Regions from separate parts of the Homo sapiens genome. Here region 1 is linked to region 2. The links are contacts of gene promoters, found by promoter capture Hi-C in blood cells and fetal thymus (Javierre and others, 2016). All regions are on one chromosome and are shown on one strand. The core of a region is centred on a gene start or on the middle of the fragment in contact, and the rest is flanking DNA. Distances in the headings are between cores, read along the strand shown.

Region 1 (7,050 bases), core at 1,156-3,655, 1.0 Mb after region 2:
CTAATATGTCAATTTAGGAAAGTACATAAAAATGAACTGCAGAAAACACAATCTATCCTACGTGTCTATGTGTTCTACTACATCATAATGGTAAGACATCCAAGTTTTAGAACTGAAATACAATGTATTTGAATTATCAGGCATGGACCTAATGTCATAAAATTTCTTAAACCAAACCTAATCACAGACTTTTCTGCAGTGTATGTGTGTATATATATATACATATATATATATATATATGTATATATATATACACACACACATACACACACACACACACACACACACACACACACGTACTGCAGTATATGTGTGCTTGTGTGCGTGTGTGTGTGAATTTTTTTTTTTTTTTTTAAGACAGAGTCTTGCTTGTTGCCCAGGCTGGAGTGCAGTGGCATGATCTCAGCTCACTGCAACCTCCACTACCTGGGTTCAAGTGATACTTTTGCTTCAGCCTCCCAAGTAGCTGGGATTACAGGTATGCACCACCATACCCGCTAATTTTTGCATTTTTAGTAGAGATGGGGTTTTACCATGTTGACCAGGCTGGTCTCAAACTCCTGACCTCAGGTGATCCACCTGCCTCAGCCTCCCAAAGTGCTGGGATTACAGGCGTGAGCCACCGCGCCCGGCCAGTATATATTTTTAAAAGCATGTGAGCACACATACTTTAAGCATGAAAATTATGTTACCTTGCATATTTGGTGCTGCTGAAGAATCTGATGATGCAGCTTGGTATGGCAAGTCTGTACTCAACTGCAAAAGATAGCCCTCAACTGTAGACACTTCATCCCACTTGACATGAAAGGAGTTGGTAGTGGCTTTGATCAGCTGTACTTGAGATGGTGCCGGTGGTTTCTCTATAGAACAATCATGATATTATACATTTAAGTTTCCAGTGTATAAATGGTTTGCTGATATAATTTGTGTGGACCAGAGCTTTGAAAACATCAGCAATGAACATTTCATCTGCTTACCAAGACAGGGAAAGTTTACTCAGATAAACACAGCTACAGTAGGTCAAATAAAAATAGTTTGGGGTTCTTATTCTATTTATTTATTTATTTATTTATTTATTTATTTATTTTCTTAGACAAATATATCTATAAACAAAACAATCCAGTACGAAACTACCAAACTATATGAGTCTTCAGATTTGGAAATGTGTTTAATCCTAGAAGGAGTTTTTCTGGGGGAAGCTGGGAATCCTAGAAGGTTTTTGGGGGGAGGCTGGGGAGAGGCAAGGGGAGCCAAGTATTAAAGCTACATTATTTTATCTTTCTTAGAAGTTCTAATATTCTTTAATTTTATGAGCCAATTTTCAGCCAACAGCGTACATTTTAGCAATTCTGTTAATGTTAGCAAAGATAACTTGGACATGATATTTTACAAAAGCATAACTTCTCTGAAGTTAATACTCCCTTATCAAGACTTGTACTACCAGCTGGGCATGGTGGTTCACACCTGTAATCCCTGCACTTTGGGAGGCCAAGGCAGCCTGGCCAACATGGTGAAACCCCATCTCTACTAAAAATACGAAAATTAGCCAGGCGTTGTGGCTGGCGCCTGTAATTCCAGGTACTCGGAAGGCTAAGGCAGAAGAATCACTTGAATCTGGGAGGTGGAGGTTGCAGTGAGCCGAGGTCGCAACACTGCACTCCAGCCTGGGCGGCAGAGTGAGACTCCGCCTCAAAAAAAAAAAAAAAAAAAATGGTGGGAGGAAGAGATAAATCCTTAACTTCCATAGCAGAAAGTGAGCACATTATTGCCTAAATGAAAAAAAAAATACATCAAAGTAACAATATATGCATGTGATATAGAGATATGGAAGTAAAGAATCATTTAACAGAGTTAAGAACAAATAAATGCTTGTAAAGCAAGTAAAATGAGGAAAGGTGCGAGCAAAGAACGTGATTTTTCATAGAAAGCCTCATGGAATTCTATTACTCTTTTACATGCTATCAAATGCAAAGTTTAACTAAAAGTGAAAAAAAGAAAAAAAAAAACAAGATGAGCCCCCTCTTCCACCAAAACTGATGCTAACTTATCAAGAGGAAAAGCAAAATCTATATTTTGCCCTTATGATCATAGCCATGATTACTTTTAGAAGAATACTGATATCTAAAGCTCATTATGAAAAGGTTTATAGAAAAACAGGCCATTCAAATCCAATTTTTAAAAATCTTTTTAAGTCACAGATCCCTTAGAGAATCTGTGCAAAGTGATATAATCCCTACAGAGAAAAATTCAGTCATACACATTTTTTTCATCCAATTTCAGAGACTGAAGCTTATCCTTAGACTTTAGTTAATAATTTCCAATTTCAAAGATAAACTAGTAAGTTGAATTTTCTATATTTTTTTCTTGCTTGCTAGTATATGCTTCTTCCACAGAAAGCATTTACTCTCTTGTTTCATTATTTTTTCAACTATCTTAATTTTAAAATTAAACTCTTTTTACATTACAAAAACAATACATGCTACTGTAGAAAATACAGACAAGTAATGACAGAAAAGCTTTGAAGAAAATGTATAATCTCAGCTCTCAGATAATGCTTTGGTGTGTGTCCTTCCAAGTTTTCTATTTATAATTTTGAAAACACTGGAGTCATTATACGTTTTATAATCTGTTTTTCTCATATAACATCACATATTACATCTCCAGATCTAATTTCTCTAATGGCCTCTAGATTCATCTATTCATTCAAATGCCTGCTTGATCTTATTTCAAACTTAGCATGGTCTAAATGGAACTCTTGATTTTCTCCACAATGCTGTTTTCTCTCAATCTTCCCTGTCTCAGTAAAATTCAAGCTAAAAACTTCATCCTCCATTCTTCCCTTTCTTTCACTTGCCACACAAATTATCAACCAGTTCTGTCAACAAGAACTCCAAAATATATCCTGAATTTATCCAGTCCTCCCCTCCTCCATTGTCACCACTATAGTCTAAAACGCTTTTTTGACTACTGCAAGAGATTTCTAACTTGTCTTGCAGTGTGCACCTACAATTTTTTCCATACAACTGCCAGTGACCATTCCAAAATGTACATCAGAATGTGTCACATCTCTCCTTCAAACTTACACAAAACTTCCCACTGTACTTTAAAAATAACTTAGAAATTCTAACACCACATTCAAGGCCCTATATCCTGTGGTCATCTCTCTAACCTCCATTCCTACACTTTCCTCTTTGTTTACCCAGCTCAAATCTGTTGCCAAACACACCAAGTATTCCCATCTCAGACTCCTTGTATGTGCTGTTCCCTCCTCCTGCAGTGGTTTCTCTGGCCTTTTTATGTGGGTAGCTCCTTCTCACCATTCGAATCACATCCCATGTCATCTCATCACAGAAGCCTTTTTTGACTACCCACCCTGAAGCAGCCACCACTCCCACGCCCAATACCTAACACCACTATCTCATGTATTCATATGATTAACAGAAACTGAACTTATTTTGTTAACCTGTTTCACTATTGCTCATTATCTCCTTGCTGTCGTACCCCCTCAGAATGTAAGTTCTTTGTGAGAGCAGGCGCACTATCAGTCTTGTTCGCTGCTATATTCTCAGCATTTAGAACAATTCCTGCTACGCAGCTGTCAATCAGTATTTATTCAAAATCGATGTGAGGTACACATTTTTAAAAATTTTGGTGCTTTAATAATTATTTTCCCCCTTTCGAGATGGGGTCTTGCTCTGATACCCAGGCTGGAGTGCAGTGGAGCAATCAGAGCTCACTGTAGGTAGACTCAGACTCCTGGGCTCAAGTGAACCTCTTGCCTCAGCCTCCCAAGAAGCTGGGACTATAGGCATGAGCCACTGTGCCTGGCTAATTTTTTGTTTGGTAGAGATGAGGGTCTCACTATGTTGCCTGGGCTTGTCTTGAACTCATGGCCCCAAGCAATCCTCCTGCCTCAGCTTCCCAAAGTGCTAGGATTACAGGTGTGAGCCACTGCACCCAGCCTCTAATATATTTTTTTAAAATCTTTTATTTTAAAATAATTTTAGATTTACAGAAAAGTTGCAAAGATAGTACAGCATTGCCATAACCCCCTGACCCCAGCTTTCCCTTTTCTCCAGCTTCCCCTAATATTACCACATTTGTTAAAACTAAGAAATTATTGGTGTAATACTATTAACTCAACTATAGACAACTCAGATTTCACCAGTTTTTCAATTAATGTCTTTTTTTGTTCCAGGATCCAATCCGGAACACAACATCACATTCAGTTGTAATGTCTCCTTTGTCTCCTCCAGTTTTTGATTATTTCTTAGTCTTCCCTTGTTTTCCTTCACTTTGAAACTTCTGAATAGTACTGCTCACATATTCTTTGTAGAAGATCTAGAATGTCCCTCAGTTTGGGCTTGTTGATGTTTTCTCATAGTTAGGCTGAGGTTATGGATTTGGGAATACCACCGAGGTACTTTCACTTATCACATGATATTAGGGAGTAAATGATACTAACTTATCACTAGTGATATTAACCTTGATCACTTGATTAAGGTAGTGCTTGCCAGGTTTCTCATGCTTGCCAGGTTTCTCGTGCTTGCCAGGTTTCTGTAAAGCTACTATTTTCCCTTTCCATACTTTATTCTTTGCAAAGGAGTCTTTAAATCCAGCCTACACTCAAGGAGAGGATAATTATATACTTCTCAGGAGTGGAGAATAACTATACATATTGTTTCTTCCATTCATACTTAATTATGGGAAACAAGAGGTAGTAGCATTTACAGTAAGTCTCAAAAGGCAGACATTTGAGTGCTTACCTAAAGGAAAAAGTTTATTTGTTAAATATTCTTACCTACCAGTATCAAGATACCAAAGATCCTTGCAGCAAACTTGACTATTCAGTGCTTTTTTGTAGCCATCTCTTCCACTCCAAAAATACAATCGAGTGCCGATTGCAACAGCACAGTGGCCAGCTCTTGGTCTTGGTCTTGAATTTTTTTTATCTTCCTGAGAATCTGATACTAGGGTGGTCCACTCTGTTGTATCTGAAAAGATAGAAATATCCATGACTAATCTTTTGTTCTTAACAAAATTACAAAAATTATCTTATTAATAAAGATTAATTCAATGAGTAACTCTTAAAAGACTCACCCAGATTTAGGTAAGAAAATGAACTGGTACATCTCCATTCACAATCATGAGGTGAAGTCTCAGTATTTTCCCCCTTATGTGGGACCCATCCACCAAAAATGTACATCCTGAGCAACAACAAAACAAAAACATAAAGTAGCTTATTTCATTTTACTTCTTGGATTTGAAGTGCTAAGAATAGAAAAATTTCCTATCAGTTGACTCAGAGCTTCAGAACTATTCATTCGCTTACCATTGTCAAGGTAATGGGAATAAGAAGATGAATAAAGTGGTCTTTTTTCAAGAGTTTACAATTTTATGAAGCAGTACAGAATCACAATTATTTCTCTCTGGCAAGTTACTTAAAGTGAAGAATATTTCAACTATAATATACTTAAAAATCAATATTGCCTATAATATACTAAGGGTACCTCAGTCAGAGAGACACTCAATTGATCTATGACATCCAAAGTCAAATTTAAAATTGTATGCATATAGTAACCGAAGAGGATTAAATTTCATATAACTTTGGTCATTGATATCACTTAAACAAAAAACTTTAAACTGTGTTCCTTTAGGGCCCTAGGAGTTCTTAAGACAAGCCTGATGGCTGCTGGAAGAGAAAGGCTCATTAGGCAGAAATCAGGGCCCATTTGACCTGATGTCAACCAGATCTATTTTTTTTTTTATGCCAACCAGAGATTTTTTTTTTTTTTTTTTTTTGAGACAGGATCTTGTTCTGTTGCCCAGGCTAGAGTACAGTGGCATGATAACGGTCCACTGCAAACTCAACCTCCTGGGCTCAGGCCATCCTTCCACCTTGGCCTCCCAAAGTGCTGGGATTATAGGCATGAGCCACCACGCCTGGCTACAGCTCTATTTTTTAAAATCCATTTTATATGTTGGGGTTTCAATGGAAAATTTCATTTTATAAAATGCCTCTTCAGTTAAAAAAATGTATAAGATTTTGTTTAAATGTAAAGACCATCCTGTTTGGTTTTGAGTTTATTTAAAAAAAAAAAAAAAACTAGGTTCTAAATTACAACAGTCATTTCCTAAACTATTACATTTAATATTTAATATTACTGCAATAGTAAATATTTCATTAAATTCTAATTAAACAGTACTTCTAATTGTGGCACAATGTTGCACAAATAAGGGAATTTGTTGATGGTAGTAACAGTCAACATTTATGGAGTGCTCACTTCATACCAGAAACTGTTCTAAGCATTTCATATGTATTAATCCATTTAGTCTTCATTACAGCCTTGTCAAGTAAGTTTTACTTTAATCCACATTGTATACTTAAGGAAAGTGAGGTACAAACAGATTAAATTTTCTTGCCCCAGGTCAAACAGGACAAGTGCCAAAGCTGAGTCTTGAATTTAGGCAATCTGGTCACAGAGTTTGTATTCTAACCATCAACTCTATATTGCAATCTAAAGCATAATCATTAAGAGCATGTGCCTCAGTACAAATGAAGCACTACCAAAAATATGAAAAAGGAAAAGTGAGTTAGGTGATTAGTTTGGCAACACCCAGGTTAACACTTACATAAAGCCTACACTGGGCAGGGCATTATAAGGAATGCAAAGAAGTAAAAGAGAGAGCATAAGAAAATGGCACATTAAGTATTTTAACTTCTACAGACAAATTATTTTAGCTTCAGTCAGCACAATCAAACTTTGTTAAGTTTCATAATCTATTTCCAAGAAACTACTAGCATTACTTTCTTTGTGTGCTTCTTAAGTTGTTTTTTTAAAAAAAACAGAAGCAAAATACAAAAAACCACCATACTTGTTTCCTATAACACTGGCTGTATGAAGGCTTCGTGGAAGTGGCACTGTCCCTTTAGTTTCTGGTTTTGACCATGACATAGTTTCTAAAAGTAAAAATAATTATATTAGCAACTTGATCTAACAAGAGTAAATTACCTCAACTTCCATAATTTTAAAAAATAAAACAAGGACT
Region 2 (6,458 bases), core at 3,953-6,452:
TGGAGTCAAGCTGCCTGATATTCATTATTTAACTAAATGTGTCACTTACTTGACTAAGTTACTTAACTTTTCTATGCCTTAGTTTTCTCATTTACAAATGGAGATGACATTGTATCTACTTTATAGGATTGTGGTGGGAATTAAAAGTCAATACTTGTCCTATAATGCAATACTAAAAAGATAACCCAATTTAAAAATGGGCAAAGGATGTGAACAGACATTTCTCCAAAGAAAACAGACACATGGCCATAAGCACATGAAAAGATGCTCAACATTATTAGCCATCAGAAATGCAAATCAAAGCCACAATGAGCTTTCACATTCACTAGGAAGAATATAATCAAGACAATAAAGGCTGGCAAGGATGTAGAGAAACTGGAACCCTCATGCAGTGCTGGTAGTAATGTAAAATGGTATAGCCATATTGGAAAACATTCTGGCAGTTCCTCAAAAAGTTAAACATAGTTACCACATAACCCAGGATTTCCACTCCCATATATACATATGTATAAAATATACACACAATGTACACACATTTTATATACAATATACTTATATATGTCTACACAAAATCATGTGCCCAAATGCTCATAGCAGCCAAATAGTAGAAAAATCCAATGTCTATCAACTGATGAATGGATAAATAAAATGTGGTTATCCATTCCTTACAATGGAATATTATTCAGCAACAGCAAAAAAAGAAAGTACTAAAAACATGTGACAACATAGATGAGCCTTGAAAACATAAGTTAAAGAAGCCAGCAACAAAGGAGCACATATCGTATGATTTCATTTATATGAAGTGTACAGAGGAGACAAACACATAGAGATAAAAAGTAGATTGACTGGTGGTTGCCTAGGGCAGGTATGCCATGGCATGAACTGGGGGTTGATTATCACACGGTACATGGTTTCTTTTTTGGGGGCTGAGAACGTTCTAACATTGACTGTTGTGATGGTTGTACAACTCAGTGAATATGCTAAAAACAACTGAATTATACAATTTAAATGAGTGAATTGTATGATATATGAATTATATCTCAAGAAAGCTGTTATAAAAACAAGTCAGTGTGTGACTTAGGACAGTGTGTAATACACAAGTGCTCAATAAAATGTAAATTATTTTTCAAGTGGTAACAAACTAATTTTAAAGATAAAAGAAATATTTCAAAATGGAAAGAGTAATGTATTTTATACATTAAAAAATTACTCACACATTAACATCTATATAGCATGAGAGAACTTTTCAGAAATGGTGAAAATATTCTCTATCTTAATTGGGATATGAGTTACAAGTGTTTGGCAAAATTAAGAGTATCTGCATTTCACTCTATGTAAAATAGTCTCAATCAAGAAAAAACAAAGCCTGAATATTCTATCCAGCCCTCATTTTCTTAATAATGAAAATCAAAGGCAAGCTCAAAGACTTGGAGTTTGTGTCATTCTTTGACACTAAAGGCTGTGTGTTTGTCATTCTTAAACAGAAAACACACACATTTAAAAAACATCTGCATGGCTTAGAGAAAAGGAAATTAACAATTTTCTCCAACTTTCATTTTGTTCTTAGATTTCAAATAAAAATACTTTTTCCATTTTAAAAAATTATGTTTTCAGGATATAGTATGTCCAGAAAATATATACATATATTTTTAAAAAATCAAATCAAACCTTTAATGCTATAGGATCAAGATTGAAATCCCAAACATCTCCAATTGAGTCATCCAGAGCGTCCTCAATTCTTCTCAGTTGAGAGGTATACTCCTCAAGAAATTTCCCATAATTCTTAAGTTGGACTTCGGCATGAATTTCTAAGTTTAAATTTTAAAACAGTATGTGATAAGTGCAAGTAATGAATTGCAGGACATTTACTTCAAATAACCTCAAAAGTCACGCAAAGCACTGTTAATTATTACTCTGGAATGTCTGGACTTCCTGAAAATAAAGTTCCAAAGTTAAACAACAATTCAGCTTTCAATCTTCTCTATACACGAAATAATTTTAAAAGCAGTAGATGTTACCATATATAAAGTTACTACCTTAAAACCCTAACATATTATGAAAAAGCCACTAGCCCATCTACCCCCATAATAGAGGGCTTTGAACCAATCTGAAAAGTGCCTTAAACAATTCAATGTCCTGATTCTATCTTTTAGTCATGAACAACTCTTTTGCAAAAACAAATATTCATGATCTGAAGGTGAAAAAAACAGTCTGTCACAGAAGTAACACTTAAAAATGTAGTTTTTAATTCTATACACACTAATGTTTAATAATACACCTAAATATTTTTAAATGGAGGTTTTATACCTGCTTGAGCATATTATTTCTATAATGTCTAAAATTTAACCAAGATATTTGTTAAATTATTTAACTGTCATAATCAAGTTGGAAAAACCAGCAAAGAACACTGCTTGACTACAGAATACTATGCTGTTCTTCACAGAATTAACACATTCATAGGTAACTTTAAGGAATCATTGGAATAAGCTGGATTTTAAAATATGCCTATTCGTCAAAGTATTTCACGTTACACATAAAAATTCATTACTTGTTCCCAAAGGTAACAAATTCAACTCCAACTCAGTTTCTTTTATTGATATGAATAACTTTATTCAACCTTTGTCTTCTAAAAAAGGTAAAAATTTGCTCTCCTCAAATTAGCAATGTGAAGCAAGTAAGAGAAAGTGTGTTCTGACTCATGCTGTATTAAAGTATAAAGACCTAGCCCCCACTCTCCTTTATTCTTCAACCACATAAAGTTTTAAATCCGGTGAATCCATTTAGTTCATTAAGGTTTCTGTCTTATTATAGCATTAATCTAGGCAATTTTGGAAAACAATTAGTCTAGATATGATTCACAGACCAAAAATTAATGAACGCCAAGCACAGGGAGGTGTTCTCTTCCCTACAGCTTACATATAAGACTGCCCAGATTCTCAGAACCCCAAATAGTTGTCTTATTCTCAACTACACAGGAAATGACCAGTCAAAGCTGCATTTGACCAGCAAATGACTTCTTAAAGACAATGCTAGGCCGGGCATGGTGGCTCACCCCAACACTTTAGGAGGCCAAGGCCGGTGGGTCGCTTGAGACCAGGAGTTCAACATGGCAAAACCTTGTCTCTATCCCAATTTAAAAAGAAAAAATCAGCCAGCTACTAAGGAGGCTGAGGTAGGAAGATCACCTGAGCTCAGCTGGTCGAGGCTGCAGTGAGCCGTGGCGATGCCACGGCACTGGGCGACAGAGTGAGACCTTGTCTCGAAAAAAAAAAAAAAAAAAAAAGACAATGCTAGAGAAACACCACGCCAATAAATCACTCCTTTAGTATGTTCAGGGATTCACAAACAGGAAACAGAAAACCTAAAATAACATTAAAAGTTCCTTGCTGACAATAAACGGTTGTAAAATTGGTGAAAGTTAAAATAACAAAAGTTGAGATAAGAACTACATGGTAATTTTTTAAGAGTAAAAATTCCAAAAACCTACTTAACATGCTCATCTTTGTCAACAGACTGCACTCCTTGTTTTATCTTTTTATCCCTAATATCTAGCACAGCCACTGGTTGTAGAAAATATCTGTTGAGTGAATCAGACCATTCTACTCCAGGCTGAACCATTTTCAAACTCAATTAACATAACTCTATTCCAATTTTTTTTGAAGATACCAGTTCGTCATCTTTGTCCATAAAACATATATGACAAGGTACAGTTCACTTTATAACAATACAGAATCCCCTCCACAAAAAAAAATTAAAAGATTTTGTCATTATCTCCAAGGTTAATTTTTATGCTGCATAAGAGCTAATACCTTATTATCACCCAGGCTAGAGTGCAATGGCGCGATCTCGGCTCACTGCAACCTCCGCCTGCCGGGTTCAAGCGATTCTCCTGCCTCAGCCTCCCAAGTAGCTGGAATTACAGGCGCTCGCCACCAAGCCCAGCTATTTATTTTTTAGTAGAGACGGGGTTTCACCATGTTAGCCAGGCTGGTCTTGAACTCCTGACCTCAGGAATGTTTTGTGAAAAACTGCAACCCATCCTGGATGTAGCTCACTCTTCTCTGAGAGACTTGTAAAACCTAATTCATCTAACATTGTAGGCATTAGTCTCTCTTCGTAAATCAAGCAAAATTCATCCGGAATTTTTAAAAGCAACGTTCCACCTTTTGGGAAAACTATGAGGGAAAAAAAAAATCACAAACAGCATGCTCCAATCTCTCTTAGATCACTTACACAGATTACTATGACCAAAGATAAGAAGCAGATTGCCAACTTGTATTTATTTCAAGTAGAGTTTCACTACAATTAATTTGGCCTCAATATTTTACTGAAAGAAACACAATTTGTTTATTTCGGGATAGACTTCTAAGTTAAAATCAGACAATTCGATCTTGTGAAGCAAAATTTGAAGATTTGCTGTAATTTTTGAAGCCTTTATAACTGCGATGGAAACTGCAGAACATCACTGAAAAATATCACTTAGCATAAATAAAAGGCCTGGAAAATGATAAAATGACATTCACGTGTTTATTTTCGCAGGGTGAAAAGTTCTTTTTTCGCTCCCTTCTACGGTTATAGCAACGCGATGGGAAAGACACCCAAACTTGCAAAAGTTGATTTGGGAGGAAAAGAAGAAAAACAGGAAACCGAAACAGGAACCCAGACATCAGCGTCCTCCAGAGCTGAACGCTCAGAATCTGGCGAAATCCCCAAGAGGCCAGAGACAGAAGCAGCCTGGGATCCCGGGGCCGCTGGGCCTCCCGGGCGCGCCCCGCCCAAGCCCCGGGGCAGCTGAAGGGGGACGCCGCTCCCCGCGGGGCACCGCAGGCTCCCCAGGAGAGTCTCCGCCTCACACGCCGAGCCCTGAACGGGCAGCCTGACCCGCCGTGGCTGGGACCCCAACCCCGAAAGTAACGCTGGAGAGCGCGTCCCTCGCACACCCCAAGGGCTCTGAAGTGTCCCGCACCAGACGGCTGCGCAGCCGTCCCTCTCGCAGGAGCGCTGCCCAGCCCAGAACAGCGGCGGGCCGAAGGAGCGTCCACCCGCAGCCCTCGCCCTGCAGCTCCCTTACTCTGCGAGCCGTCGTCAACGCGGTCAAACTCCCAGTCCGGGGACAGAGTCTCCACCGCCATCACCCCGGCGCCTCCCACAGACACAGCCCCAACCAGCCCGTGCGGCGACGACGGCCTCACCCCAGCTACTGTCACAGCACGTGACTTCCGGCCCCGGCCCCGCCTCCGCTCGCGAGGGCCGGCCGGGCTCGTTGCCCCTGCGACCGCGGGGGCCCCTGGGAAAGCGAGTCCTCCGCCGTGGCCGAAGGCGGCCGCCATGGCGCCGGCAGTGCCAGCGGGCGTCTTGCGACCCGGCTCGGGCTTCGCCACCATTCACTGTGCTTCTCAAGCCACTTCGGCACTCTAATTTCGCCCTGCTCTCTCTAGACGATTTTTAATACCTGGGAAAGTTACTCCCCAGTCTAACCTAAAAAGGTAGAATTGATGGGGTGGGGAATTAACAGGAAGGCATGATCCTCGAGGATAACGCTGACCAGGCGCTTCTTCCAACAAGCCTGTTTCCCTCTCTGTCGCCACCGTAGGAGTTCCTACAGCTCTCCCGCACATTCTGTACGGATTGTTTTTTAGTCAAGACGTTCTGTGCGAGAGGAGAAGTTACTTTATGAACACCCTAACAGGGGATCTTACGACCTCTTCCCCGCTCTCCACTCAGTCCTTTTAAAAACGCGAGGCAGGATGAAGAACGCTATTGAAGTACATTCTAAAATGATCCCACCTGCAATTTGGATTTTTGGAGAATCGGGATCGGTGTAAAATTCTACATGCATACACGTATTTGCACAAGAATATTTATAGCAACGTGGTTTTTAATAGGAAACTATCTAAATGTTCATTACAAGTGAATTACATAAAGCTCAATACATCCATACTACGAATCACTGAAGAGCTGCTAAAATAGATGAAATATATTTATAATGGCATGAACAACCGACACAAGACAGTTGCAGAGTAATGTGTATTTGTGATTACATTTATGTTTTTAAGTTATACAAACGCGTATGTGCCTACGTGTATGTAAATTCATAGGAAGACAAATCAGAGGACGGTGGTTACCTGGGGAAAAGCATGTGTTGGTGAGTAACAGGATTTTCAAGTTTTGATGTGTCTACTTATGTGTTTTGAATCCTTAACAATGAGAATTTATTAGGGTTTTACTCTTGTAATCTTAAAAAGTACCGAAAAGAACTAATCAATGTAGGCAAAAGGTCTATTGAAGAGCATTCTTCTGAGGTCATTGGATCTGCCCTGAGTTAAATGTTTATTGAGTGCCCACTGGGTACCAGGCACCAGGCTAGATGCAGAAACTATAAAACATGTAAGAAAATTGCTTTCTGACCCTATGGCAGACTTAGTGGGCATTTCAGAAAGAAAAAAAAAATCTTGAAA

The links. Contacts are between HindIII fragments. The CHiCAGO score rates a contact against its expected background, and 5 or more counts as called.
Region 1: a contact is called between a fragment that was not itself captured here and the fragment with the promoter of WASHC4 in region 2, in 5 of 17 cell types (total CD4 T cells, total B cells, total CD8 T cells and 2 more). The highest score is 8.4, in total CD4 T cells.

What each region holds. Positions count from the first base shown.
Region 1 is chr12:104,080,657-104,087,706 of GRCh38, reverse strand. It overlaps HCFC2 (host cell factor C2), which reads right to left. Exons shown (of 15, transcript NM_013320.3): 5 at 6,877-6,961; 6 at 5,101-5,207; 7 at 4,806-4,994; 8 at 693-860. Among named protein-coding and RNA genes, the nearest start is that of HCFC2, 20 kb to the right of the region's middle. The HindIII fragment of the contact is 227 bases long and covers 2,292-2,518 here.
Region 2 is chr12:105,106,475-105,112,932 of GRCh38, reverse strand. It overlaps WASHC4 (WASH complex subunit 4), which reads right to left and starts at 5,202. Exons shown (of 33, transcript NM_015275.3): 1 at 5,072-5,202; 2 at 1,669-1,808. The coding sequence starts at 5,132. LOC414300 (a long non-coding RNA gene) reads left to right here and starts at 5,291. Exons shown (of 2, transcript NR_121211.1): 1 at 5,291-6,145. RefSeq lists enhancers at 2,936-3,095, 4,934-5,093 and silencers at 4,654-4,903, 5,114-5,393. The HindIII fragment of the contact is 7,983 bases long and covers 1-6,458 here.